4 separate regions of the Homo sapiens genome follow, and regions 1, 3 and 4 are each linked to region 2. The links are contacts of gene promoters, found by promoter capture Hi-C in blood cells and fetal thymus (Javierre and others, 2016). All regions are on one chromosome and are shown on one strand. The core of a region is centred on a gene start or on the middle of the fragment in contact, and the rest is flanking DNA. Distances in the headings are between cores, read along the strand shown.

Region 1 (3,294 bases), core at 55-2,554, 480 kb after region 2:
AAAATTAGCCAGGCATGGTAGCATGTGCCTGTAGTCCCAGCTACTCGGGAGGCTAAGGCAGGAGAATCACTTGAAATCGGGAGGCGGAGGTTGCAGTGAGCTGAGATCACGCCACTGCACTCCAGCCTGGGCAAGAGTGAGACTCCATCTCAAAAAAAAAAAAAAAAATTGTCCCCATGTAGACAGCATGATATTATGAAGTGTTTTTGGAAAAGTGCTTCATAGCTAAAGAGCAGAGTGTAAGAGTTCGTTAGTGTTTCTTAAGGAAAGCAATGGCAAGTTCTCTTACAAATGGACAAAATAATCTTGTATGTCTGAAGTGATAGTGTACAGTACAGGAAATGTAGCTGTTACTGAGCTATAATGGGGGCTTGGTTCTACCATATCTCTACTTTGTGTTTATGTTTGTGTATGCATGTACTCCAAAGTCTTTCTAATGTTGCTTTAATTTCCAAAAATGTATGCATTGCTTTAACAATACATGTGATGTGTCATATTACAGATGGGGTCACAGTGGTTATAAAGAGTTATACCCTGAAGAATTTGAAACAGACAGGTAAGGAAAATAGGCTTACTGAAAGAAACTAAGATGGTACAAAATCTGTATTATAAATTGATTTCTTAACTTTTACGAAGAATATACTTGCCATCAAAAATGTAGCTAGAGAAACAATAGGTGATTTAGTTAGGAGGTGATCCCTGTTTTCCCATTCTCTGGTTGATGTTTGGCATGTCTGTAAGCATTTTGGTTTTTATATATAGTATTCCATACAGTAACTCAGTATGGCAGCTTAGAATTTTTACCTTCATTTTAAAGATGAGGAAACAAAAACTCAATGAGAATATTAAAGTGTTAAAGTATACATTAAAGTGCTTATTTAAAATTCAGATGTTAACCTCAATTTTTTAATCTAGAATGCAAAATATTAAAATAATACGCTTTTTTTTTACATAAAAGCTTCTATTTTTTAACTTTTCTTATTAGTAGTGATCAGCAAGATATTACCAACGGGAAGAAAACATCTCCCCAGGTAAAGTCATCTACCCATGAATCCCGCAAACACAAGAAGTCAAAGAAATCCCACAAAAAAAAGCAGAAAAAAAGGTCACACAAAAAACAGAAGAAAAGCAAAAAGGAAGCCACAGATATAACAGCAGATTCCTCGAGTGAGTTCTCAGAAGAAACTGGGGCTTCTGGTACAAGGAAAGGGAAACAACCACATAAACGCAAGAAAAAATCCAGGAAAAAGTCTCTCAAAAAACCTGCTTTATTCTTAGAGGCAGAAAGTAACACTTCACATTCAGATGATTCAGCATCCAGCAGTTCTGAGGAAAGTGAGGAAAGAGACACTAAGAAAACCAAAAGGAAAAAGAGAGAGAAAAAAGCCCATACCTCTGTAGCCAACAATGAAATACAGGAGAGGACAAACAAACGCACAAATTGGAAAGTAGCTACAGATGAAAGGTCTGCTGAGAGCTCAGAGGATGACTAAATGGGAAACACTTTTGTTTTCCACATGACTGTGGATATTTACAGTTCTTACTCCTTGTGGTTTTGCCAGTGACTCTTGTTCAGCACGGGGCCTGAGGTCAGAGCTGTCTTGTGCCATCTGTATGTTCTGACAGACGTCTTGTCTTCTATTTTGGCGTTAAGCTTGATCCCCTTTTCTTGTTAAAAGGGAATCTGGTATTTTGTTATGAAGGTTTCTTGAAGAGATTATTTTTTTTTGCAATTAATTACGTTTAGTGTAGAGTGCATATACAGCAAATTAAAGGACCCAGAAAGCTGGATCCAATAGTGACCTGGGTACACCAATCGGAATATTGAATTTGGGGAAGTCAAGGGCTGGGATCAAGAGGTGGATTGGAACTAATGCCATGTAGGATGGTATGACAAGGCAACACTGTATTGCTCTCTGTTTATATAGCAGGTGTCACAACTAACTTGTCTTTAGCCTTGGTGCTTTGATCCTTCTATATTTTGACCCCACAGGTGTGGTCCGGTTTACTTAATCAGGACATGGGCCTAAGAACAAACCTTTTCCCTTCATGATAACATCCATAGACAACTTATTAGAAGGGACTAGAGTTTTTGCAAATTTCCCTGCTGGATGGGGCCTATAGCTATACTTAGTATATGCCTAAACATGGTAATTGGATAGTAAATGGTTTTCTAGTTCCATTGCTGTATATTTGCCTAAATGGACTTGTGTTCAAATTATTTCTTCAATTGTCATAGATAATCCTGTACCAAATGGGGAAGAATTAGGAAATAATCATGTTGTCTAATGGTACTCTGGATTCAGGGCAGCAACTGCCATTTAAATGTTGTCTTGTTCATTTCTAAATCTGTTCATGAAGTTTAGGTTTTCCCTGAAACTAAGTTGAATTATTTCCAAAATGAAACAGGCTTCTCAGGGACATATCCACTTCTTCCCAGTCTGCCTTTGGATTAAAGCACCAAGCAGAGACCACATTAATTCCCTTTGCTATACTGTGATCCTTAGTATGTTAATTCTTAAGAAACCAACATATCACTGAAAGAAGGCTGGCAGAACGCAAGTGCATTTTTTCACTGTGGGAAGAAAGATCAAGTGACGTATTATTTTTTCCTGGTTGTCACTTAATGGGCTGAGTAAAAAGCTTGAAAACTCAGACTTTCGGTCTTGGTTCTGCCACTCATTGGTTATGAGGAGGCCCAGAGCAGGTAAGTTCACCTTCCTGGCCTTACTTTCCTGATGTGTAATACGGAATTACTTCACAGTAGCATGACAGTATAAGACACCAGCAGTAGATACAACTATGATGACATTCCATGAGTTGGTATTTTTAGTTCTAACTGCTAAATTTGTTCTCTTTACGGGACAGATTTCTAATAAAGTGCTTGGTCTTAAAATACATGGTTGGACAGAGGTGCCCTATCCCTTAACTATGAGCAGGTGCTACCTTTTGGGATATTTATTTTAAATTTTAATACTTTGGTACTCAATTGTCAGTGTTCCATGGTGTGTATTTTTATTTTTGGGATTAGTGGGGGTCTAAAGGGAGAAGAATAGTCTCTAATTACTACCTCTTAACCTAAAGCAATTATTTTGTTCCTGGAGCAAGTTAAATCTTTGTTGGAAGGAGCTTTGGCCATATATTTTTTAGCATGCATTGTTTCTGTGCCCTGAAAGTACCTGAAAGGTTTTAAGCACAGACTCAGGAAAATGTGCCAGTAGAACAGGCCATCTCCAGGAAATTGGCTCTATTTGGGTCCTGACCTTCCCTTCCTCCCAAGTTAGCAGGCTTGTT
Region 2 (3,365 bases), core at 712-3,211:
CTAGATCATAATATGCATTTTTGACAGGAATACTACTTAAGAGATATTGTAACCTCAGTGCCTCACATCTGGAGGCACATCATGTCATTTTATCACATAATTGGTGACATTAACTTTGATCATTTGGTTAGGGTAGTGTCGGTCAGATTTCTCCACTGTAGAGGTACCCTTGTTAACCCTTTATCATGAATAAGAAATCCAAAGACTGTGCAAATATCTTGTTCCCCAGCCAAATTTTATTCAATGATTTTAACATCTATTGATAATTGTCTGAATCCATTATTACTGTAATGGCTGCCAAATGATTTGCTAATTGTCATTTCTTCTAACATATATTAGTTGGCATTCCACCGTCATTTCACTTCTCCCCTCTTTATTTTTCTGTTTAAAAGTAAGTATGCTCTACGATTCTTTTAAAAAATTCAATGTGTTAGAATCAATTTCTATATTTATTTATTTATTTATTTATTTACTGAGACAGAGTCTCGCTCTGTCGCCCAGGCTGGAGTGCAGTGGCACGATCTCGGCTCACTGCAACCTCTGCTTCCCTGGTTCAAGCAATTCTCCCTGCCTCAGCCTCCCGAGTAGCTGGGATTATAGGCGCCCACTACCACGCCCGGCTAATTTTTGCATTTTTAGTAGAGATGGGGTTTCACACAGGCTAGTCTTGAACTCCTGACCTCAGGTGATCCACCCGCCTCAGCCTCCCAAAGTGCTGGGATTACAGGCGTAAGCCACTAAGCCCGGCCCATTATTTATTCCTGATACTCAAACTGTCTCAGATTTGGTAAGGGGGGAGCACCTTCGAGCCATCTGCTTTCTTTTGACATATCTTCCTTGACATAGCCAAGAAATCTCCTTGCTTTAAGGAGCAGGATCTTTCAAGGGCATTTTATACTTTCCCTGTCTCTGCCCTCGAATGAGCCATCTCGCCACGGAGTCTGGCTCCTTTAGGTGGAGAATGGTATTTAGAAACCAAGATATAAAGGCATATGATACATCTCAAAATAGTGAGGTGTCACTGTCCCTGTTTCCTTGAGTCACATTTGGAAGCGTGGTGTGATTTATAATCCTACCTCGACTATTGCCTGTGTGACCTAGGCAATTCCCTTTATTCCTTGAGGTCTTCTTCGTCCTTTGGGGAAAAAAATTGGATTAGAGAAATATTTCTAAACTTTTTCAGAGTCACCAACGCGTTTGGGAATCTGACAGAAGCTACGGGTCCATCTCCCCAGAGACATGCTCACATAAGCAAAAACTGGCCTGTGTTTTAGGGGGTTCCAAACTCTGAAGCTCACATGAGGCTCCAAATCTCTGGATTAAGTGATCTCCAAGATCTCTTCAGCGCTGACATTGACATTCTGTGAGTCTATAAGCGACTGCACTGCTGTCAGAATGACTCCTCGGAGACATCAAAACGTGGAGGGTTTTATTATATATAGCAACGAGAAGAGAAAAGGACACAAAGAAAGGAGCCTGTGAGCAACGCATTGCTCAGCCACAGTTCTTTGCCGGTGCCAAATTTAGGACGCGCTGTACTTGTAGGTGAGAGGTTTTGGCGGGAAGGACCCCGGGTGGGCGGAGAACGCCGGGGCGGGGAAGGAGATCGCAGGCCGCATCCAGGTCTCTGCACCCCTCCGCACGGTCCGCCAGGGCTCGCTCTTGCCCTTCGCCTGGAAGGCCGAGGAACGGAGCGGGCCGAGCAGCGACCCCGCCCCTGGCAGCGGTGAGGCGGAGGGGCGAGGGGAGGGCGTCTGAGCCCGGAAGGAGCGCGCCGGCCAGGCTCGCGCCCCTCCCCGTGCGCCGTCCCCCACTCTCCAGCAGCCGACGTCGGCGGTGCTTCGGTCGCCATGGTGACCAATCCAGGCTCGGGCCCGCCCCCGCCCCCCTGCCCCGGCCCCCTGACGTCGGCGCACGTCAGCGGCGGCGCGCGCCTGGCTGGGCCCTGGGGAGCGGGAGGGAAGGAGCGAAGGAGCGAAGGAGCAAGCGGAGCGGCCGTCGCCCAAGCCAAGCCGCGCTGCCAACCCTCCCGCCCGCCCGCGCTCCTGTCCGCCGTGTCTAGCAGCGGGGCCCAGCATGGTCATGGCGGATGGCCCGAGGCACTTGCAGCGCGGGCCGGTCCGGGTGGGGTTCTACGACATCGAGGGCACGCTGGGCAAGGGCAACTTCGCTGTGGTGAAGCTGGGGCGGCACCGGATCACCAAGACGGAGGTGCGGCCCGGGGCTCGGCGGGAGCGTCCGAGGCGAGGGTTCGGGAGAGGAGCTGCTTACCGAGAGGGGCGGCCGCAGTGGTGGGACCGGGGAGACCCGAGAGGCCGCCTCACTGGCGGAGGCGAGCGGGCCTGGGACTGTGAGGACCCAGGAGGTGCAGGGGGTCGGTGAGCAGCGAAGGGATCGGGCCCGGGCACCCGGACCCGAGTGTCGTCCGACTGGAAACGCAACCAGCCGGGGCTTTGCTTTCCCCTACGCCACCCCCGGTGGCCACCCGGAATTTCGCCCAGAGCCCCCCACCCGGGCCGTGACCTGGTCTGTGGCCTCCGCTCCGGAGCCCAAGTTCCGCGTCTTCCCTGCTTTCGGCTGGGGGTGGGGTGGGAGGGGAAGTCTCGGTGTTCCCAGGCTGCGCCGTGAGAGACGTCGCCGGCCCGAGGAGGGGACCGCCTGCGCTTGGGCTCCGCGGATGGGGGATCGTGCGGCCCCCGTGACCCCGGCGCCCCTCCCCTGCCCGACGAGGAAGGGCCCCATGGCTGGGAATACCCCCACGGCCACTGTCCATCTCCTCTCCTTCCTTTTGGCCCAGGGTGTCTCTGATTTGGTGTCTGGCTAGCTTGATCTCTTGCCTGGGGCATTTCCATTTAATGCCCCAGACAATAGAACTGGTTAAAATGGTCATCTCTGCATTTGCACGGTGGGTGGATTGGTCTTCTACTTGTCTAGGGTTGTCACTGTACCAGGTGTGCATTCTGGCTGTAATACGCATTCTTTAAACCATATCAGATTCTGCCTCTACTCATAAAGCCCTCAACTGCTTCCTGACGGTGAATCCTGCACCCTCTTCATTGCACATTCTAATGCACCGCACATACTCTCTCACAAGTCTCTGTTCTTACCTAACCCGCCCCCCTTCCTTCCACTGCCTCAAGCTGCTCTCCTCAGGGTCTCTATTTTAAGACGTGCAAATTAAATACCTTAGAAGAACGGTAGAAACAAAACCATTCTTTAGAATAAAACCTAGTGGTTTTGACGTACTCTACTCTGCCTTATTGTAGTTCCTCCTGGAGTTTCATCCTTTTCCTGTTTGTTTGCCCTCCAGTTTTGGTCCTATTCTGCTTTTTCCCTTGTTAGTACGAATGTACTGGAGTTTGAGT
Region 3 (3,680 bases), core at 1,181-3,680, 420 kb after region 2:
TTGTCGCCTGGTGGCATTGGTGTGGGGTAGCTTGTCCTGCTACTTGCTAAAGTTCTCTTTCTTTGAGAAAACTGAGGAACCAGAATGCTTAGAGTTCATAAAATAATCTCTAAACCATGTTAGGTTAAAACAAAATGACCATCTCACAAAAACGAGTTTAGTTGAATGCTCAATTCCTTACAAAATCTTCATTTAAGGCTGAGTGTGGTGGCTCATGCCTGTAATTCCAGCACTTTGGGAGGCCGAGGCAGGAAGACTGCTTGAGCCCAGGAGTTCAAGACCAGCCTGGGCAACGTAGGAAGACTCCGTCTCTACATAGAAATTTTATTATAAAAGTAGCTGGGGATGGTGGCACACACCTGTAGTCCCAGCTACTCAGGAGGTTGAGGTGGGAAGATTGCTTGAGCCCAGGAGTTTGAGGTTGCAGTGAGCTGATCATGCCACTGCACTCTAGCCTAGGCTACAGAGCAGGACCCCATCTCCAAAAAAAAAAAAAAAAAAGTCATTTAAAAACTGAAGAATGTTCTCTTCTTGCTCAGTTCCCTAAATTAGCTGGGGGGATTGGGATACTTTACAATTTTTACATTTTTAAATTTGAAGAATTTGTTTTAAACTTACTTGGTAATGGCACTTCTACTTACTGACCAACTTTTCAGCTCTTTTTGACCAGGATGGTTGCAAATTAGGGAAAATATCTTTATACTATACATCCAATTCAAGAGGACTTTAATTACTTAAAAGCATTTAGGTCATAATTAAAATTATTTTCACTGTTTCCATAAAATAAGCATTATGATTGCACACTCCTTCTACTGTCTGAATTTATGTAAGAGGTATAGCTTGCTTAAAATACATATATATGTAAAGTTATATTTTCTTAGAAACATGGATGTTTACAGCCATTGCTTTCAAAGAGATTATTACTGTGTATTCTCCCTGTTTTACAATATGTTTTCATGAAGACTATGTTACACCAGAGGCTTCTGATTATCAAAGTGATAACCAGTTTTAACTGCCGGTATGTACCAGATTTGTGAACTAATTTAAAAAACCACAAACTATGAATAAAATGGGGTTTGCAAACTAAATATCATTAATGATTTTCACTTGCGTTTACTGATGAGATTAATCAATAAAGCCATTTACATTTAGTGAAAGCAAATTTCCTCAAGTGATCTCCCTGGTAGCATGTTTACTCACTATGTGGAGTGGAGATAAGAATTACTTTATTGCTACAGATATTTTACAATTAGTATTTCTATGTAAGCACATAGGCTATTATCAAGGACAATTTATTTAGCACTTATTTTGAAATTATATGTAAACATGCAAACAAATAAGAACCCAAGAGTATAAACTCTATGACAAAAGTCAGTATGCAAGCATTAAGAACTCTTTCAGAAATGTGTATTTAAAATGACCAGAATTCCCAGATCATTTGAAAGCTGCCTCTTAAATGCCTCTTATCAATTCATCTTAAATGTTTGCTATATTAAATTCTTTATCCCTGAGTGCCTTCATTTGACTTCCAATTACGTATTTTCAACTATTAATTGGCTATCCCATTATGTTAAAATTAAATATGTACATAACTCAAAATCTTTCACTACCAACTAATTTCTGTTTCTCTCAATATCAGTGATATCACCATTCTCTTAAGTATCTCTATTTCAAACCTTTGAGTCTTGAGTCTCCTTTTCCATAATTTCCTTTATCCAGTCTGTTTAGTGGAATTCAAGCTTGTTCTCTCAGGACTGATTTGAGAAACCTAAGCATTCCTAGCCCACCTCTGGGGTAAGCTCGCCATCTCTGGACTGTTTGAGCTATGCATTCCTATAATTTAACTACACTTAAGTCAAAAGTATATTCAAGACACAAACTCGCTATTCTTTGAAAAATGCAAAACAGGGTTTAAGCAAGCATACCTAAGTGCACAACAGATCCGGAAGATCACCTCATACTTTATACCAAAGTCTAATTTAGATCCAGTTATTAAGTTCAAATGCAGCAAAAGCAGCAAGATATTTTAGCCAACTCAAAAACATTTTTATAATAATTTATAAGTCCTGGGCGGGCATGGTGGCTCGCGCCTGTAATCTCAGCACTTTGGGAGGCCGAGGCAGGTGGATCACCTGAAGTCAGGAGTTTGAGACCAGCATGACTAACATGGTGAAACCCCGTATCTACTAAAAACACAAAATTAGCTGGGCATGGTGGCACGTGCCTGTAATCCCAGCACTCGGGAGGCTGAGGCAGGAGAATCGCTTGAACCTGGGAGGTGGAGGTTGCAGTGAGCCGGGATCATGCCACTGCACTCCAGCCTGGGCGACAGAGTGAGACTCCATCCCCAAATAATAGTAATAAGTCCTTTCAGTAATTACAATTATTCTTTCATTGCTTCTTCCAATTGTTAATTCATAAGTTGTACATAATTGTAACAATATAATTGCTCTCTTCATATTATTTAAAATATGCCTTTTCATTCAATCTAGAAATTTTATATTTCTCAATTATATTGCTTACATATTATTCTGATAGACAGCTGTACCTGCTTAAACATTCCAATTTAAGTAGGCATGAAATAGTACATCCAATCTGTTTTAGTTTTCCAAATTAATTGTTAGCAAGATTAGCCCCCATTTTTTTTTTTTTTTAACAGATGGGAGTCTCATTATGTTGCCCAGGCTGGTCTCAAACTCTTGGGCTCAAGTGATTCCCCCACCTCAGCCTCTCAAGCATTGCTGGGACTACAGGCATGCACCACCGCTCCTGGCTAAAATCTTGTTTTAAGTTTCTTCCCTCCAACTTCCTCTTGCGTTCTTGGTGTTCTCTAACCATCTCTACAGGGGGGAGGTGGTGATACACAGCACATGCTTCCTCCTTATCTAATGTCACCTTCAGTTCAGAAACGATATGTTTTCTAATTAAAAGACAACTTTACAAGAGAAGCGTGCCTAACAAAATGTGTAGATGACTTTTTATTCATTGATTCAAAAGACATACATTCAGCCCCCGCTATTTACTGGATATTAAGCTCTGGGGCTACATGGAAGGACCACGCAGACACTCTTCATGCCTTCAACGGCTTACAGTTAAGTTTTTCAAACATTTGAAACATAACGAAGCTTTTGGTTACTTAAAAGAATTCTATGGTATTAGGGAGCAACACCTGTTTTGTAAACCTATATCTTCATACAGGGAATATGCTTAATCTTGCTACAGTATACATGAATGCGGGAATGTATCTTCCTCTGGGCTGCCTTTCGTTACCACTTGGCTGGGTGGAACACCTGTTCACTCCACTTTCCACTTGGGCTACAAACCTGAAACGAAATCTTTGCAACCAGTACAGCCTGCGCGGGGCGCGGCCCAGTCCATCCCCCTTCGGATGCGCAGAAGCAGAGGTCACCACGCCGGACCCCTCGATTCCCTCGCGGGCGATTCCTGGCTCCTTCACCACCCCAGCACTCCAAGACCCCCGCCCTTTGGCCTGAGGCTCCCACTGCCCTAGCCAGTTCCCGGGCTCACTTCCAGCTTTTCCAGAAAGCTTGGCCACGCCCCTCGGCCCAGACTCTCAGGCCACTCGGCCGCAATTAACCCGCGTCTCTGCGCCTTTTTAGGCCCCTCCCCCTCGGTCGTGCCCTTGTCATCTCTTAGGCCCCGTCTCACCCTTTCGGATG
Region 4 (3,438 bases), core at 700-3,199, 260 kb after region 2:
TAAATTATTCAAACTCTCAGAGTCTACTTTCTCATTTATAAAGTACTAATAATTGTATTTCTCCTGCAGAGTTGTTGTAAGGTTTCAAGATAAGGTTTACGAAGGGTTTCACTGTGCCTAACACATAGCAGATGCTCAATGGTCATTATTCTTATTAGAATTAATCATAATAGTAAGTGCTAAGAGAAATATTCTTCCATTTCCCAGAATCTTTGAAAGCCCAATTGATTAACTTCAGATTCTATGCAGACAATATGGAGCTAATCCAACATTAAGATTTACTATATGCCCAGCGATATATGGGAGGAGAACTGTTAGTTTCTTACCCAAGAGCTGCACTGAATGGCCAGCCTAAGATAGCCCCAGCTGCTACTCCCAGCACAGCAATGGAAGTCTTGTCCATATACCATCCAGTCATGGCTATCAACGTAGTGTACATACAGAAGCTACTAGGAAGGAATGCTGCAAGAGTAAAGAAGTGAAAAAAGGCAGGAGGACAAGAGCTCGAGGTTAATTAGGTATCAATTAAAAACTGATTAAAAATTTACCTACATTATAAAATGTCAATAAACAGGTACATAATTGGGGAAATGCTATATTAGAAAGGACAGCAAAGTGATATTCTTTTTTAAAAAAATGAAGTTCAATGACTCTTATTTTTCTCACTCCTGGTTTTTTTTTTTAGACGGAGTCTTGCTCTATCACCAGGCTGGAGTGCAGTGGTGGGATCTCAGCTCACTGCAACCTGATTCCCTGGTTCAAGCGATTCTCTTGACTGAGCCTACCGAGTAGCTGGGATTACAGGCACGTGCCACCACACCCAGCTAATTTTTGTATTTTTAGTAGAGACGGGGTTTCACCATGTTGGCCAGGCTGGTCTCGAGCTCTTGACCTCGTGATCTGCCTGTCTCGACCTCCCAAAGTACCGGGATTACAGGCGTGAACCACCGCACCTGGCCTCTCCTTCCTGTTTTTTTAGGTACCAACCCAATTATACAATTCTAACCATGTAATTCCTCTCCCAGCCTACACCTCAAATCAAAAACTCATAGAATTCCACGCTCCCCAGGAACACCCCATGATTATATTTCCAGGAAGGGAATATGCTTTAAAAGACTTAGAGCCATTGCTGACAATTTACTTCTGAAGAAGCTTATCTTCCATTGGTCCTCTGAGACTGTCCTGGTCCTAACCTCTAGCCCCGGAAATTCTAGAAAGCCTCCTCAAGGGCCAGATATTGTATGGCAGCAATGCTTTGCACTCTCCACCTGCTGACACAGATAATCTGGCCTTTAAATAGCCCCCTAATTAGTTCCATCTACCTCAACCTTGTTTTATACAGCAGAGGACAGAGTACAGGGTCTCTGGAACAGAAACAATTGATTAAAGTGTTTCTAGTAACTCTGAACAAAAATGCAGATCTGCCTCTTCTGCTGCAGAAAGTCTGAATCAGTAGGGAAGAAAAATCAGTATCAACTACAAAACAACCACAATTAATAGGCAGTGAGGTTTTTTTAAACTCAGCAAAGGGTTCAGAGGCTCTGTATGAAAAGATGCCTTCAACTTATCTGTGTCTCAAATGAGATTACAAAACTAAAGATATTCTAAGGAATTTTCTACATATAAAGATCAATTGTAGGAGTAGCAGGCCAGGCACAGTGGCTCATGTCTTTAATCTCAGTACTCTGGGAGGCCAAGGTGTGGGGGGCTGCTTGAGGCTAAGAGTTTGAGACCAGCCTGGGCAACACAGTGAAACTCCATCTCTACAAAAAACTTTAAAACTAGCCAGGCATGGTGATGCATGCCTATAGTCCTAGCTACTTGGGAGGCTGTAGTGGAAAGACTGCTAGAGCCCAGGAATTCAAGGCTGCAGTGAGCTACGATTGTGCCACTGCACTCTAACCTGCCTAGGTGAAGAGCAAGACCTTGCACTTGAAAAGAAAAGAGGCCACGTGCGGTGGCTCACACCTGTAATCCCAGCACTTTGGGAGACTGAGGCGGGTGGATCACGTGGTCAGGAGTTTGAGAACAGCCTGACCAACATGGTGAAACCCCATCTCTATTAAAAATAAAAAAATTAGCTGGGCGTGGTGGTGCACGCCTGTAATCCCAGCTACTCAGGAGCCTGAGGCAAGAGAATCGCTTGAACCTTGGGAGGAGGGGGTTGCAATGAGCCGAGATGGCATCACTGCACTCCAGCCTGGGCAAACAGAGCGAGACTCTTGTCTCAAAAAAAAAGAAAAGAAAAGAAAAGAAAAAAAGTAGTAGGAAAGCAACTTAAAAAACATCTGAGGTACACCCTTTACCAATAAATGTCAAATAATAATGATGCCATCCAAAGCTGTCAGTTCCAGCTGCAGTGTAGAGGACAAAGGGGGCAGAGGAATCTGAGGGTAGAGCACAGATGCATTTAGGACAGGCTCTCAAAGTCACTCTGGAGTACAGCCCTGACATCTCTGCAGAACAACATCAATTTTGATATATTCAATAAGGGAAAAGTAAGCATATAATTTTGTGCCAGATACTATGTTTTTGTGTATACTCTGTATATACTAGATCCTGGTACACACAAGCAGAAACTAAAATTGAGACAATTATATCCAGTAACTTAATTTTTCTGGAGAACTGGGAATAGACTACCATTTGGCAGTGGACCAACTTGATTCAGCTTATACAACACAAATGTTCAATGGCAGAACAGTCTGAAAGCCAATGCTCTAGAGTGAGGTTTTTATTCTAAATTTCCAGAAGCTTATTATTAAAAGAAAGCCCAGCAGAAGATGCACATAGAATACATATCAAATAATGTATCATCAGTAGAAAACAGAATCATCAACAACAGGTCTTTATGTACAAATAACTTCTTTAAACAAAATAAAAGAATTACTTTCTTTCCACTAATGGCCAAGAAAGGAGGTGGGTGGTTGATGCAAGAATGGAATAGAAAACATCCTGGTGAGACTACCAGCTCTACCATTTATGAATTTTGACTTTTAGTAAATCATTTCATCTACGTTTCAATGTCCTTACCTGCAAAAGTGAGAAAATGTTTTTCTTACTTACATGGTAGGATTGTTACAAAGGTCAATCAAGATAATGTAGATAACAGTGCTCTGCAAATTATTGACATGTTCTACAAATATAACCTACATTTGGACAAATGCTTCCTTTAAATGCAACTGTGAACTATTGGTGAACCTGCAATTCCCTCATCTGCCCTTTTACTTACCTGGTGATGACCTGCAATTCCCTCATCTGCCCTTTTACTTACCTGATGATGAGCAAAACATGCCAGTGCTGAGAACCAAGAAGGCTAGCATCATTCGACTCACGTGCAACCCAAACTTCTTGCACACAGCCCTAGGAAAAAGGCAAAGACTATCAGCATTGAGAATATTAGGAATAGACATTTCAAATCAAAGGAGAAAAACACGTACC

Evidence for each region. The method cuts DNA at HindIII sites, captures the fragments that hold promoters and counts their contacts. A CHiCAGO score of 5 or more calls a contact.
Region 1: a fragment that was not itself captured here is called in contact with the fragment with the promoter of SIK2 in region 2 in 1 of 17 cell types (non-activated CD4 T cells); the score reaches 6.1 in non-activated CD4 T cells.
Region 3: a fragment that was not itself captured here is called in contact with the fragment with the promoter of SIK2 in region 2 in 1 of 17 cell types (erythroblasts); the score reaches 5.0 in erythroblasts.
Region 4: a contact is called between a fragment that was not itself captured here and the fragment with the promoter of SIK2 in region 2, in 16 of 17 cell types (erythroblasts, naive B cells, M2 macrophages and 13 more). The highest score is 8.9, in erythroblasts.

What each region holds. Positions count from the first base shown.
Region 1 is chr11:112,081,480-112,084,773 of GRCh38, forward strand. NKAPD1 (NKAP domain containing 1) reads left to right here. Exons shown (of 6, transcript NM_018195.4): 5 at 503-556; 6 at 986-3,294. The coding sequence ends at 1,493. Among named protein-coding and RNA genes, the nearest start is that of TIMM8B, 3.6 kb to the right of the region's middle. The HindIII fragment of the contact is 696 bases long and covers 957-1,652 here.
Region 2 is chr11:111,600,488-111,603,852 of GRCh38, forward strand. It overlaps SIK2 (salt inducible kinase 2), which reads left to right and starts at 1,962. Exons shown (of 15, transcript NM_015191.3): 1 at 1,962-2,211. The coding sequence starts at 2,077. RefSeq lists an enhancer at 1,348-1,487 and silencers at 1,578-2,017, 2,568-2,727. The HindIII fragment of the contact is 10,147 bases long and covers 1-3,365 here.
Region 3 is chr11:112,021,497-112,025,176 of GRCh38, forward strand. It overlaps DIXDC1 (DIX domain containing 1), which reads left to right. Exons shown (of 20, transcript NM_001037954.4): 20 at 1-1,157. Among named protein-coding and RNA genes, the nearest start is that of DLAT, 2.1 kb to the right of the region's middle. RefSeq lists an enhancer at 2,874-3,063. The HindIII fragment of the contact is 1,386 bases long and covers 1,738-3,123 here.
Region 4 is chr11:111,857,276-111,860,713 of GRCh38, forward strand. ALG9 (ALG9 alpha-1,2-mannosyltransferase) reads right to left here. Exons shown (of 15, transcript NM_024740.2): 5 at 3,272-3,360; 6 at 327-462. Among named protein-coding and RNA genes, the nearest start is that of ALG9, 13 kb to the right of the region's middle. The HindIII fragment of the contact is 1,599 bases long and covers 1,151-2,749 here.